Linked DNA regions of Homo sapiens: all the other regions are linked to region 3. Evidence: promoter capture Hi-C in 16 types of primary human blood cells and fetal thymus (Javierre and others, 2016). All regions are on one chromosome and are shown on one strand. The core of a region is centred on a gene start or on the middle of the fragment in contact, and the rest is flanking DNA. Distances in the headings are between cores, read along the strand shown. Region 1 has its middle 16 kb from the start of OR1D5. Region 2 overlaps RAP1GAP2 (RAP1 GTPase activating protein 2). Region 3 holds the start of OR1E2 (olfactory receptor family 1 subfamily E member 2). Region 4 overlaps LOC100288728 (a long non-coding RNA gene). Region 5 overlaps LOC100288728 (a long non-coding RNA gene).

What was found. The method cuts DNA at HindIII sites, captures the fragments that hold promoters and counts their contacts. A CHiCAGO score of 5 or more calls a contact.
Region 1: a contact is called between a fragment that was not itself captured here and the fragment with the promoter of OR1E2 in region 3, in 2 of 17 cell types (M2 macrophages and M1 macrophages). The highest score is 7.6, in M2 macrophages.
Region 2: a fragment that was not itself captured here is called in contact with the fragment with the promoter of OR1E2 in region 3 in 2 of 17 cell types (M0 macrophages and M2 macrophages); the score reaches 5.8 in M0 macrophages.
Region 4: a contact is called between a fragment that was not itself captured here and the fragment with the promoter of OR1E2 in region 3, in 1 of 17 cell types (M2 macrophages). The highest score is 6.8, in M2 macrophages.
Region 5: a fragment that was not itself captured here is called in contact with the fragment with the promoter of OR1E2 in region 3 in 2 of 17 cell types (M0 macrophages and M2 macrophages); the score reaches 5.9 in M0 macrophages.

What each region holds. Positions count from the first base shown.
Region 1 is chr17:3,077,961-3,080,660 of GRCh38, reverse strand. No RefSeq gene overlaps it. Among named protein-coding and RNA genes, the nearest start is that of OR1D5, 16 kb to the right of the region's middle. The HindIII fragment of the contact is 4,058 bases long and covers 1-2,700 here.
Region 2 is chr17:3,024,924-3,027,623 of GRCh38, reverse strand. It overlaps RAP1GAP2 (RAP1 GTPase activating protein 2), which reads right to left. Exons shown (of 25, transcript NM_015085.5): 20 at 1,503-1,616; 21 at 1,160-1,274; 22 at 554-680. Among named protein-coding and RNA genes, the nearest start is that of OR1D5, 37 kb to the left of the region's middle. The HindIII fragment of the contact is 6,980 bases long and covers 1-2,700 here.
Region 3 is chr17:3,432,482-3,435,181 of GRCh38, reverse strand. It overlaps OR1E2 (olfactory receptor family 1 subfamily E member 2), which reads left to right and starts at 1,341. Exons shown (of 1, transcript NM_003554.2): 1 at 1,341-2,312. The coding sequence starts at 1,341. The coding sequence ends at 2,312. The HindIII fragment of the contact is 9,794 bases long and covers 1-2,700 here.
Region 4 is chr17:3,171,378-3,174,077 of GRCh38, reverse strand. All of the region lies in intron 1 of LOC100288728 (a long non-coding RNA gene), which reads left to right. Among named protein-coding and RNA genes, the nearest start is that of OR1A2, 25 kb to the left of the region's middle. The HindIII fragment of the contact is 1,101 bases long and covers 896-1,996 here.
Region 5 is chr17:3,153,082-3,155,781 of GRCh38, reverse strand. All of the region lies in intron 3 of LOC100288728 (a long non-coding RNA gene), which reads left to right. It also overlaps the pseudogene OR1P1. Among named protein-coding and RNA genes, the nearest start is that of OR1G1, 27 kb to the right of the region's middle. The HindIII fragment of the contact is 5,658 bases long and covers 1-2,700 here.

The sequences.
Region 1 (2,700 bases), core at 152-2,651, 350 kb after region 3:
AATGGACATTGAAGTCCAGGCTGAGGTGGTCTCAGATGGAGATGAGAAACTTAGTGTGAACTAGAGTAAAGGTCATTCTAGCTATGCTTTAGCAAAGACACTGGAGGCATTTTGCCCCACCCTAAAGATCTGTGGAACTTTGTACTTGAGAGTGATTATTTAGGTTATCTGGTGGACGACACTTCTAAGCAGCAAAGCATTCAAGATGTCACCTGGCTGTTTCTAAAAGCCTATAGTCATATGCATTCACAAAGACATTATCTGAAATTGGAACTTATGTTTAAAAGAGAAGCAGAACATAAAAGTGTGGAAAATTTGCAGCCTGGCCATGCAGTAGGAAAGAAAAACCCATGTTCTGGGGAGAAATTCAAACTGGCTGCAGAAATTGCATAAGTAACAAGGAGCCGAATGTTAATAGTCAAGACAATGGGGAAAATGTCTCCAGGGCATTTCAGAGACCTTCACAGCAGCCCCTTCAATCACAGGCATGGAAGACTAGAAGACTCAATGCAGCCATGGGACATGGCACCCTGCATCCCAGCCACTCCAGCTCCAGCCATGGCTAAAAGGGGCCAAGGTAAAGCTCAGGCCATTGCTTCAGAGGGTACAAGTCCCAAGCATTGGTGGTTTCCACGTGGTGTTGGGCCTGCAGGTATGCAGAAGACAAGAGTTGAGGTTTGGGAATCTCAGCCTAGGTTCCAGAGGATGTATGGAAATGCCTGGATTTCCAGGCAGAAGTCTGTGGCAAAAGCAGAGCCCTCATGGAGAACCTCTACTAGGGCAATGCAGTGGGGCTGGAGCCCCCCATAGGAGAACCGCCTAGTGGAGCTGTGAGAAGAGGGCCACCATCCTCCAGCCCCCAAAATGGTAGATCCACCAACAGCTTGCACTAGGTGCCTGGAAAAGCCACAGGCACTCAATGCCAGCCCATGAAAGAAGTTGCAGGGGCTGTATGTACCCTGCAGAGCCACAGGGGTGGAGCTGCCCAAGGCCTTGGGAGCCCACCTCTTGCATCAGTGTGCCCTGGATGTGAGACATGGAGTCAAAGGAGATTATTTTGGAGATTTAAGATTTAATGGCTGCCCTGCTGGGTTTTGGACTTGCATGAGGGCTGTAGCCCCTTGGTTTTGGTCAATTTCTCCCTCTTGGAATGGGAGCATTTACCCAATTCCTATATCCCCATTGTATCTTCGAAGTATCAAAGTAACTAACCTGTTTTTTATTTTACAGGGTAGTGGGCAGAAGGGACTTGCCTTGTCCCAGATGAGACTTTGGACTGAAAATTTTGAATGCCTGAATGAGTTAAGACTGTTGGGAAGGCATGACTGGTTTTGAAATGTGAGAAAAACATGAATTTTGGGAGGGGCCAGGGTTGGAATAATATGATATGGCTCTGTGTCCCACCCAAATCTTATCTGGAATTGTAATCCCCACATTTCAGCGGAGGGAACTGGTATGAGGTGATTGGATTATGGGGGCAGATTTTCCCCATACTGCTCTCATGATAATGAGTGAGTTCTCATGAGATCCGATGGTTTAACAGTGTGGCACTTCACCCTCCCCTTCTCTCTCTCCTGCTGCCATGTAAGATGTGCCTTGCTTCCCCTTTGCCTTCCACCATGATTGTAAGTTTCCTGAGGCCACCCCAGCCATGCAGAACTGTGAGTCAATCAAAGCTCTTTGCCTTACCTAGTCTTTACCCAGTCTCAGGTAGTTCTTTACAACAGTGTCAAAACAAACAAATACACCAAGTGTCCAGGGTGGCTATACTTACATCAGATAAAATGGACTTTAATTCAAAAGCTGTTACAAGAGACAAAGAAGGTCATTATATAATGACAAAATGGTTGATTCCACAGGAATATATAACAATTATAAATATACATGTACCAAACATCAGAGCACCTAACTATATAAAGCAAACATTGACAGATTTTAAGGGATACATAAAAGCAATAAAATAATAGTAGGAGACTTTGATATCCCACTTTCCATAAAGGATTTATAATCTGAACAGAAAATCAACAAAGAAACACCAGATCTGAACAATGCCATAAACCAATGTATGAGTCAGACATGTACAAAACATTCCACCCAACAGCAGCAGAAAACACATTCTTCTAAAACAGACATGGAACATTTTCCAAGAAAAATCACATGCTAGGTTACAAAATAATTGTTAACAAACTTAAGAAGATTGAAATCATTCTGTGTGCCATTTCTGGCTATTAAAAATGAAAAATGAATTCAATAACAATAGGAAAATTATAGATTATATGAAAATTAAACACTCCTGAACAACTATTGACTCGAAGAAATTAAAAAGGAAATTAAAAAATATTTCAGGGAAAACAATGAAAATAAACACAACATACAAAAACTTAAAAGTTGCAGCAAATGCAGTACTAAGAGGGAAATTGACAGTGAGAAACTTACATTATGAAAGAAGAAATATCTCAAATAAACAACCTAACTTTACACTTAAGGAAGTAAAAAATAAGACATTAAACCCAAAGTTAGCAGAAGGAAGAAAATAATAAAGAATAGAGCAGAAATAAATGAAACATAAAATAATATCAAAAATAGACAAAAGTAGACATCGTTTTTTGGGGAAAAATGTGAAAAAATTAACAAACTCTTAGCTAGAATCATTTTTAAAATAAGAAATACTCAAACAAAATCAGAAGGGGTGAAATTTCT
Region 2 (2,700 bases), core at 163-2,662, 410 kb after region 3:
CGGGGCTGACCCAGCCTGTCAACGCTCCGGCCTCTCTGACGCCTGGCTCTGTGAACCCAGCTGCCATGAACACGTGCAGTTCCGGAATACCCGCTCTCTCCTCTCCTCTGGGCCTTTCCACATGCTGTTCCCTCCCCCTGCAGCCCTTCCCCCGTCTTGTATTATCAAGACCCCCGACATGACAGACGGGCCCTGGCAGCCCTGGAGCGCTGGCAGGTGGGGAGAAGGGTTGGAGCACTGGCAGGTGGGGAGAAGGGCTAATGGAAAGTGCTCAGCTTTCCCACTGCCAATCCCGACTCCTCCGCTGTGGGATCTCCCACAAGGCCTTCAACTCTCTGCCTCAGCTTCACAACTCTCAGTGTAAGAAGAGCTTAGGAACTTGGGCATCTTAAGGCTGATGAACAGAAGAGGCGGGCGCACAGAGCGGAGGGCCTCACAGCTGGGAGGAGGGGTGAAAACTGGCCAGTTCAGCGTGGCTGGGGCCCTGCTAACAGTGGACAGGGCACAGCCTGCCCTCCTGGTGACGTCACACACACCACCAGATGCCACTGACCTGTGGGACTCCGGCTCATGATGATCGGGGTGGCAGCTGCCCCCAGGCTGGGGCTCTCGCTGCTCGGGGACGGGCTGTAGACAAACACCTCCTGCTTGAAGGGTGAGGTCGTGGACGGCTGGCTGCCCTGAGGAGAGAGGCAGGGTGAGCGAGGCCAGCCCACCCTCGGCAGCTGCGCCCACGCAGGCCTGAGGCAGCCCCCAAAAGCCCAGGACAGCCGCTGCCTCCTGCTCCCCACTTGGGCCTGCTCTTTCTTTCCTGCTGACTTCAACCCTGGTTCCAAGCTATCCTGCTCCAAGAAGGACCTTTGACCCAGCCCCCTGGGGCACTGGCCACTCACCACTCCAGCCAGGAACCCCAAGGCAGGGCACCATCGGGTCTGGCCCCTGCCCTCTGCTGCTGCTATGTCACTCTGAGAGAGAGGTCCCCTCACCCACTGCGCCCAGGGGGTGGTGATGGCCAACGAGCCCACCTCTCGTTTCCATTCTTCCCCTTTCCTCTGCAAAGACTGACATGGGCTTCGATCCACAGTGCCGTTTTAATGCAAGGAGGGTGGCTGGCTGACGCCCCAGAGTGCCTGCCCAAGGGTGGACGGGGCACACCTACCCCACTGTCGCCCTCCTCCATGGCCTCGCCCTCCCCTGCAGTGCTGCTGACGCTGCTGGTGCTGGAGGAGGAGCGGGAGATGGCACGGCCGTTTTCCTTCAACTTCATGAAGGGCCTGCAGGGAATAGGAAGTGAGGCCAGCCCGGGTCACACGCGAGAGCCCTCCACCCCCAGGGTCCTCCCCGGGACCTCTGGCGGCTCCCCACGCCCCCACCCGTCGGCCTTTGTGTTCTGGAGAGTTCCAGAGGCAGGAGATGGCCACTCTCAGCTGGCCAGGAGGCAGAGGGCGTGTTCCAGGGCTCCACGTGGCCGAAGCTGGCCTTTCCCACCCTCACTCTCTTACTTCTCCTTGTTGGGGCAGATTTCCGGAGAGCTGGGATTGGATGAGGTCTCAGACTTTATCTCCTGAGAGGAGTGTCCACCATCTGGGGTCTTGGGTGTGCTGGATGTGCTGTCACTGAGGGAATGGAAATGAGGAGTGAGGCCGCGGAGACAGCCCTCAACCCCCACCCCATCCACGGCCCCAGGCAGAGCCTCTCTCGGCACGGTGAGGGGCAGTGGGGTCAGAGCGCCCCCGCCTGGCATCACTGCCTGGATGTCCTTTCCCACCTGAGCCCCCCAGAGATGGCGGCATACTACAGGGTTTCCCGGTCCCTACAACAGGGACTATTCTAGGTTCATGGTGAAGTCCAGAGCTGCCAAGCAGGAGTCCTGGCTTGACGGCCTCTAGCCCAGATCTCTCTCACCCAAGCTGGCCATCACACCTGGCGGAGTTGTGGGTCAAGAGAGGGCCCCGTGGGGAATGGAGCAGGGAATATGGCAGAGTCTATGACATCCGCCCCCACCGCAGGAACCACCCAATACACATGGACTCCTGGGAAGTCCCGGGGGGCCATCCTTCATATAGACTAGAATACGAGCTCCTGGTCCCACATGAGGAGGCTGCCCTGGGAGCTGGGAAGCAAGGGGTACTCTCAGCCAACAATATCCTTCTCCTTTAGTGTAACAAAGACCATGGACAGTGCCCACAGTGCTCCCTGTGCTGGCTGTTGGGGATGGGATGGCCGTGTCCTCAATGCACTTTTTTTGAGACTGAGTCTCGCTCTGTTGCCCAGGCTGGAGTGCAGTGGTGCGATCTTGGATTGCTGCAACCTCCGCCTCCCAGGTTCAAGTGATTCTCCTGCCTCAGCCTCCCAAGCAGCTGGGATTACAGGCGTATACCACCATGGCCAGCTAATTTTTGTACTTTTAGTAGAGATGGGGTTTCATTGCATTGGCCAAGCTGGTCTCGAACTCCTGACCTCAAGTCATCTGCCTGTATCGGGCTCCCAGAGTGCTGAGATTACAGGCGTGAGCCACCGCACCTGGCCGTCAATGTACTTTTTAAATAATAGTGTTCTTGAGACAGAATCTACACACCACAGAACTCACCTATTTAAAGTATACAATGCAATGGCTTTTAGTTTATTCAGAGTTGTGCAACTATCACCACCATCTGATTTTAGAATACTTTTGGACCCCTAAAGGAAACACTGGACCCA
Region 3 (2,700 bases), core at 92-2,591:
GGCATGGGTCAGATAATGAAATATGATTTGTGTCCTTGAAAGGAATTTTGTGTATATGTTAAGAATAATGAGAATCCATAAGGACTCTGAGCAGGAGAATGATGATCAGATTTTTATCTTAGAATGCCACAGTGTGTGGCCGGGCACGGTGGCTCAGGCCTGTAATCCCAGCACTTTGGGAGGCTGAGGCGGGCAGATCACGACGTCAGGAGATCAAGAACATCCTGGCTAACACGGTGAAACCCCGTCTCTACTAAAAATACAAAAAATTAGCCGGGCGCGATGGCGGGTGCCTGTAGTCCCAGCTACTCGGGAGGCTGAGGCAGGAGAATGGCGTGAACCCAGCAGGAGGAGCTTGCAGTGAGCTGAGATTGCGCCACTGCACTCCAGCCTGGGTGACAGAGCGAGACTCCATCTCAAAAAAAAAAAAAAAAAAAAAAAAAGAACGCCACAGTGTGAATGGATTGAAGGCTAGTGAGCATAGCAGCAGGGAGATGAAGTAAGAGACTATTCCAATAGTCCAGACAAGAAAAGATGTCAGCCTGTTCCAGATTGTGGCAACTGGGATAAGCAGTGGGTGAATTAGAAATAGAATGAAGTACAGAATCTATATAACTTGCTAGGATTAGATGTTGATCTTGAGAGAAATAAATAAATGAAAGAAAACTCCCAGGTTTCTGACTTGAGCCTGGATTCCTTTTACTGAGATATGAGAGACTGGAGGAGCAAATTGGAAGAGTGGCAGGGTGAGATAACGAGTTTCATCTGGGATCTGTTAAGCTGAGGATGGTCATGATCCATAGGGAGATAATCAGGAAGCAACTGCTAATGCAGTACTAATGATGATAGGTTTACCCAGGAAGTTCAGATGGTAATCAGTGTCACGGGGACAGGTGAACTCTTTCAGGGCTTGATCTGTAGAATTAGAACAGAATTTAGGAAAAATTCCCAGAAAACAGCAACGTATAAGATACTGTTAGAGAAGAAACCATTTACAGTTGTTAAGAAGGAATGGCCAATATGTGTCAGGAAACCAGTGTGATTGCACGGAAGCTAATAGATAAGAGTGTTTTAGAAAGAAAGGAGGAGTCAATCTTGCTACATGTTATGCAAAGTGAGATGGATCAGTGTGAAAAGTAGCGTGGATTTTGTGATGTGGCACATTTCTGATTATAGAAATAATTATAGAAATCTCTGAATATAGAGATTGTTGTTAGGGAAAATGAGGGTGAAATCAGTGATTGAACACCTGTTGACCATGTATCATAGGAATATATTTATTTTTATTCACGGTTTTGAGGGACCCTATTATATTCTCTTAAAGATACTGGAGACAGAGCATGATGGGACAAAATCAAACCAGCATCTCAGACTTCCTGCTCCTGGGCCTGCCCATCCAACCAGAGCAGCAAAACCTGTGCTATGCCCTGTTCTTGGCCATGTATCTTACCACCCTCCTGGGGAACCTCCTCATCATTGTCCTCATTCGACTGGACTCCCATCTCCACACGCCTGTGTATTTGTTTCTCAGCAACTTGTCCTTCTCTGACCTCTGCTTTTCCTCAGTCACAATGCCCAAATTGCTGCAGAACATGCAGAACCAAGACCCATCCATCCCCTATGCAGACTGCCTGACCCAAATGTACTTCTTCTTGTATTTTTCGGATCTAGAGAGCTTCCTCCTTGTGGCCATGGCCTATGACCGCTATGTGGCCATCTGCTTCCCCATGCACTACACCGCCATCTGCTTCCTCCTGCACTACACCGCCATCATGAGCCCCATGCTCTGTCTCTCCGTGGTGGCGCTGTCCTGGGTGCTGACCACCTTCCATGCCATGTTACACACTTTACTCATGGCCAGGTTGTGTTTTTGTGCAGACAATGTGATCCCCCACTTTTTCTGTGATATGTCTGCTCTGCTGAAGCTGGCCTGCTCTGACACTCGAGTTAATGAATGGGTGATATTTATCATGGGAGGGCTCATTCTTGTCATCCCATTCCTACTCATCCTTGGGTCCTATGCAAGAATTGTCTCCTCCATCCTCAAGGTCCCTTCTTCTAAGGGTATCTGCAAGGCCTTCTCTACTTGTGGCTCCCACCTCTCTGTGGTGTCACTGTTCTATGGGACCGTTATTGGTCTCTACTTATGCCCATCAGCTAATAGTTCTACTCTAAAGGACACTGTCATGGCTATGATGTACACTGTGGTGACCCCTATGCTGACCCCCTTCATCTACAGCCTGAGGAACAGAGACATGAAGGGAGCCCTGGAAAGGGTCATTTGTAAAAGGAAAAATCCCTTCCTTCTATGACAGTAATACTTGGGAGTCTTATATAATTTTATCTAATAGATACATGGACATTAATATTTCAATATTATTTCAGATCTCTTTTTTTCTGCACATGAAACTTTTTGTTTAAATGTAATATTACATAATTTCTGAGTAAGTAAAACAGATGTGGGGGGGATATGTAGTTGAAGTAAGGTGTTCTCAGTAACCTGCTAGGAAGATTTTCCTTTTTGCTAATCCCAGGTGAAGAAAATCTTTAAATTAAAGATTTAAAATATTTAAATTAAAATTTCCGTCTTCATTGTTAAACCACCAGTTTATCATGTGTACTTGAAAAAACCCTGTAGGTCTGCTTTAAATGATATTCTGTCCTCTCATGTCAATAATAAGACCCAGACATCTCAGTCCC
Region 4 (2,700 bases), core at 197-2,696, 260 kb after region 3:
TATATTGATATCTTTCTCTAGGTTTAGGATATTCTCTGCTATTATCCCTTTGAATAAACTTTCTATCATTATCTCTTTACCTCCTCTTTAAGGCCAATCACTCTTAGATTTGCCTTTTTGAGACTATTTTCTAGATCCTGTGGGTATGCTTCATTCTTTTTTATTCTTTTTTTTTTTTTGCCTCCTTTGTGTATTTTCAAATACCCTGTCTTCCAGCTTACTATTTCTTTCTCCTGCTTGATCATTTTTTCTATTAAGAGACTCTGCTGTATTCTTTTGCAGGTCAATTGCATTTTTCAGCTTCAGAATTGCTACTTGATTCTTTTTATCCATTTGAATTTCTTTGTTAAATTTATCTGATAGTATTCTGAGTTCCTTCTCAGTGTTATCTTGAATTTCTTTGAGTTTCCTCAAAACAACTATTTTGAATTCTCTCTCTGAAAGTTCACATATCTCTGTTTCTCCAGGAGTGGTTCCTCTTACCTTATGTAGTTCATTTGGTGAGGCCGTGTTTTCCTGGATTGTCTTGATGCTTGTGGAAGTTTTTCAGTGGCTGAGGATTGAAGGGTTAGATATTTATTGTAGTCTTGCCAGTCTGGACTTGTTTGTACCTGTCCTCTTGGAAATGCTTTCTAGGTATTTGAAGGGACTTGGGTGTTGTGATCTACATTTTTTTTTGTCACTGCAGCCATATCTGCATTAGGGTGCACCTCAAGCTCAGTAATGCTGTGGTTTTTGCCAACTTGTAGAGGTACCTACCTCCTTGGTGGTCTTGGATAAGGTCCAGAAGGATTATCTGGAGTACCAGGCAGAAACTTTTGATCTCTTCCCTTACTTTTTCCAAAACAAATGGAATCTCTCTCTCCCCTTCTCTGTGCTGAGCTTCCTGGAAGCTTCCTGAGCTTCCTGGGGGAGGGGTAACACAAGTACTCCTGTGGCCACCACCACTAGGGCTGTGCTGGGTCAGACCTGAAGACAGCACAGCACTGGGTATCATCCAAGACCCACTGTTACCACTCCTTGGCTACCACTTGTGTTTGCTCAAGGCCCTAGGGCTCTACAGTCAGCAGGTGGTAAAGACAACCAGGCTTGTCTTCTTCACTTTGGACTGCCAAGTCACCCAGGCCCTGGGTGAGTCCAGAGATGCCATCTGGGAGCCAGGGCCTATAGTTGGAAGCCTTAGAAATCTACCTGGTGCTCAATTTACTGCATCTGAAGATGACACCCAAACCACAAGAAAAAGGCCTTCCCACTCTTCCCCCACCTTTCCTCAGACAGAGGAGTCTCTCCCCATGTCCACCACCACCACAGGCCCATAAGAAATACTGACAGGTGTATTAGGCTGTTCTTGCATTTCTATAAACAAATACCTGAGATTGGATAATTTAAAAGAAAAGAGGTTTAATTGGCTCATGGTTCTGCAGCCTATACAGGAAGCATAACACTGGCATCTGCCTCTGGGGAGGCCTCAGATAGCTTTTACTCATGGTGGAAGTTTGAGGCACTTTACATGGTGAGAATGGGAGCAATAGAGAGAGAGGTGGGGAAGGGGCGTGCTTCACACTTAATCATATTTTGCAAGAACTCACTTATTATCACAAGAAAGCACCAAGCTATGGAGAATCTCCACCCATGACCCAAACACCTCCCATCAGGCCCCATCTGCAACACTGGAAATTATAATTCAACATGAGATTTGGGCAAGGACAAATATCCAAACTATATAATACCATTTCTGGTCCCCCACAAATCTCATGTACTTCTCACATTGCAAAACACAATCATGCTTTCTCAACAGTCCCCCAAAGTCTTAACTTGTTCCAAAAGTTCAATTTCTCATCCAAGACAAGGCAAATCCCTTCCACCTGAGTTTATAAAATCAAAAACAAGTTATGGACTTCCAAGATACAATGGGGCTATAGGCATTGGTTAAACATTCTCATTGCAAAAGGGAGAAATTGGCCAAAAGAAAGGAGCTGTAGGTTCCACTCAAGCTTGAAACCCAGCAGGGCAGTCATTAAATCTCAAAGCTCCAAAATAATCTTTGACTCCGTGTCCTACATCCTGGGCACACTGATATGAGGAATGGCCTCCCAAGGCTTTGGGCAGCTCTACCACTGTGGCTTTCCAGGGTTCAGCCCCTGTGGCTTCTCTCATGGCCTGGAGTTGAGTACCTGTGGCTTTTCCAGGTATAGGGTGCAAGCTGCCAGTGGATCTACCATTCTAGGGTCTGCAGGGTGGTGGCCCTTTTTCCACAGCTCCATTAAGCTGTGCCCCAGTGGGCACACTTTGTATGGGTCCTCCAATCCCCCATTTCCTCTCCTTACTGCCCTGTGAGGGCTCTGCCTCTGCAGCAGACTTCTGCCTGGATGTCAGGCTTTCCCATACATCCTCTGGCATCTAGGTGAAGGCTGCCAAGCCTCCTTCACTCTTGCTGTGCCCCTGCAAGCTTAACACCACATGGAAGCCACTAAGACTTATGGCTTACATTCTCCAAAGTGGCAGCATGAGCTGTACCTGGGCTCCTTTGAATCACAGCTGGAGCTGGAGTGGCTGGGATATGGGAACAGTGTCCCAAGGCTACACAGGGCAGCAGAACCCTGAGCCTGGCCCAAGAAACCATTCTTCCCTCCTAGGCCTCTGGATCCATGATGGGAGGGGCTGCCATGAAGGTCTCTGAAATGCTTTCAAGGACTTTTT
Region 5 (2,700 bases), core at 69-2,568, 280 kb after region 3:
TAGTAGAGATGGGGTTTCACCATGTTGCCCAGGTTATTCTCGAACTCCTGCCCTTAAGTGATCTGCCCACCCAGGCCTCCCAAAGTGCTGTATTTCAGGCCTGAGTCAGCTTACCCGGCCTATTGCTGATGTTTCTATCCATATGAAGGCCTCTTCCATCAGAATAGCCCTACCTGCTTCTCCAGTGGTAACCCTGGGTTGAGTTACCTGATTGCTGAGTTTTGGCCTTCAGCTTCTCTTTCAGGACACATTCGGTCCTGTCCTGTTTAAGATTCTGGAGACTAGTAAAGACCCACTATATACAGGTTACTTTTTGAGGTGTCAGTGAAACTCCAAAGAACAAATCAGATTCTCTAAATAGTTGATTGTTGAATTGGTTTCCAGAAGAATAGATAACATGAAATTGCATCTTCAGAGAATATTGAGTTTTGGGCTTGATTAATCAGAACAGGTGCAGTCTTGGGGTCTGAGAGTGGTTTGAAAGCAGGTGAATGGCTGGAAAACTTGTATCCAACTCATATAAGATTTTAATAGAAGCAGTTATGTCTAGCCCATTAGATCGAAAATTCCCTGAGGTTAAGGGTTATCACTGTGCCAGGTCCAGAGTCAGTAATTAATTTCTGTAAAATTAATGAAAGAAAGCATCTTAACTCCTCTGAGAGTACAACTAAAGAAATTTGGGATGGAAAAGAGTGTAGAAAAACAAACGAGAAATGTATTTTAATTACCTTATGTTGTATCTCGCACACTTTCTAGCATAGTGTATTTCAGTAAAAATTTACAGTGCAACATAGTAGATGGCCAATAAAAGTACTTTCTTTCTTTCTTCTTCTTCTTCCTTAAAGCTCAGAGAATAGCATGCTCACCAATCTAAAGTAAAACATTTTTATAGAATTCTAATGGGGCTCACTCAAGATTTTTTTCCTCCGACCTCTGAGCTCCTGGAAGGAGGGAATCAGACTAGCACCTTTGAGTTCCTCCTCTGGGGACTCTCAGACCAGCCACAGCAGCAACACATCTTCTTCCTGCTGTTTCTGTGGATGTACGTGGTCACTGTGGCTGGGAACCTGCTCATTGTCCTGGCCATTGGCACTGACACACACCTCCACACCCCTATGTACTTCTTCCTTGCCAGCTTGTCGTGTGCAGATATCTTTTCCACCTCCACCACTGTGCCCAAGGCCCTGGTGAATATCCAGACCCAGAGCAGGTCCATTTCCTACGCAGGGTGTTTGGCACAGCTCTACTTCTTCTTGACTTTTGGGGACATGGACATCTTTCTCCCGGCTACAATGGCCTATGACCGCTATGTGGCCATTTGCCACCTGCTCCACTATATGATGATCATGAGCCTCCACCGCTGTGCCTTCCTGGTGACAGCCTGCTGGACCCTCACAAGTCTTCTCGCCATGACTCGCACCTTCCTCATATTCCGGCTTTCCTTGTGCTCTTAGATCCTTCCTGGCTTCTTCTGTGATTTGGGACCGCTGATGAAGGTGTCTTGCTCTGACGCCCAGGTCAATGAGCTTGTGCTCCTCTTCCTAGGGGGAGCAGTCATTTTAATCCCTTTTATGCTCATCCTGGTCTCTTATATCCGCATTGTTTCAGCCATCCTCAGGGCCCCCTCTGCCCAGGGAAGGCGCAAGGCCTTCTCTACCTGCGACTCTCACCTCGTTGTTGTTGCTTTGTTCTTTGGGACAGTGATCAGGGCTTATCTGTGCCCCTCATCCTCTTCCTCCAACTCAGTAAAGGAGGATACAGCGGCTGCTGTCATGTACACAGTGGTGACTCCCCTGCTGAACCCCTTTATTTACAGCATGCGGAACAAGGACATGAAGGCGGCGGTGGTTAGACTTCTCAAGGGCAGGGTCTCCTTCTCACAGGGCCAGTGACTTCTGCTGAGAAACCCAAGGTGTTCTCCATCCCCTCCAGTGAGGGGCTTGACAGAAATTTCTACCTCAAGTGTGTAATTTCGGAATCCCACATATCCCTTCTCAGCACTCCCCTCCCTGAATGCGCACTGCAAGTTTGAAGGAAAATCAAGATTTTGCTTCGTGCTTCATCTGTGAAGAGCGCCTTATTTGCTCATTTAACCTATTAATAATTTTTCACAAGGAGGCGTGACTTTTGCAATGCTTTTAATTCTAAAAGCCCGTGTAGCCTGTTATATGCTAGTTTATTAAAACTTAATGAAGTCATGGAAAGTGGGCTAATAACAATATTAGCAATAAAGTCAATATCAGATGGCAAAGAAAGACTTTACAACTTTAAGTGAACAAGTATGTTTTCCTACAAAAAATAGGAAATTATACAAATTGTCTCAAGGTTATGAATCAAAAATATTTGCAGCTATTAAAACAAAGCTCTCTCTTGGGGAGGAGCCAAGATGGCTGAATAGGAACAGCTCCGGTCTACAGCTCCCAGCATGAGCAACGCGGAAGAGGGTGATTTCTGCATTTCCCTCTGAGGTACCAGGTTCATCGCACTAGGGAGTGCCAGACAGTAGGCGCAGGTCAGTGGGTGCGCATACCGTGCGCGAGCTGAAGCAGGGCAAGGCATTGCCTCACTTGGGAAGCGCAAGGGATCAGGGAGTTCCCTTTCTGAGTCAAAGAAAGGGGTGACGGATGGCACCTGGAAAATCGGGTCACTCCCACCCGAATACTGCGCTTTTCCGAGGGGCTTAAAAACGGTGCACCACGA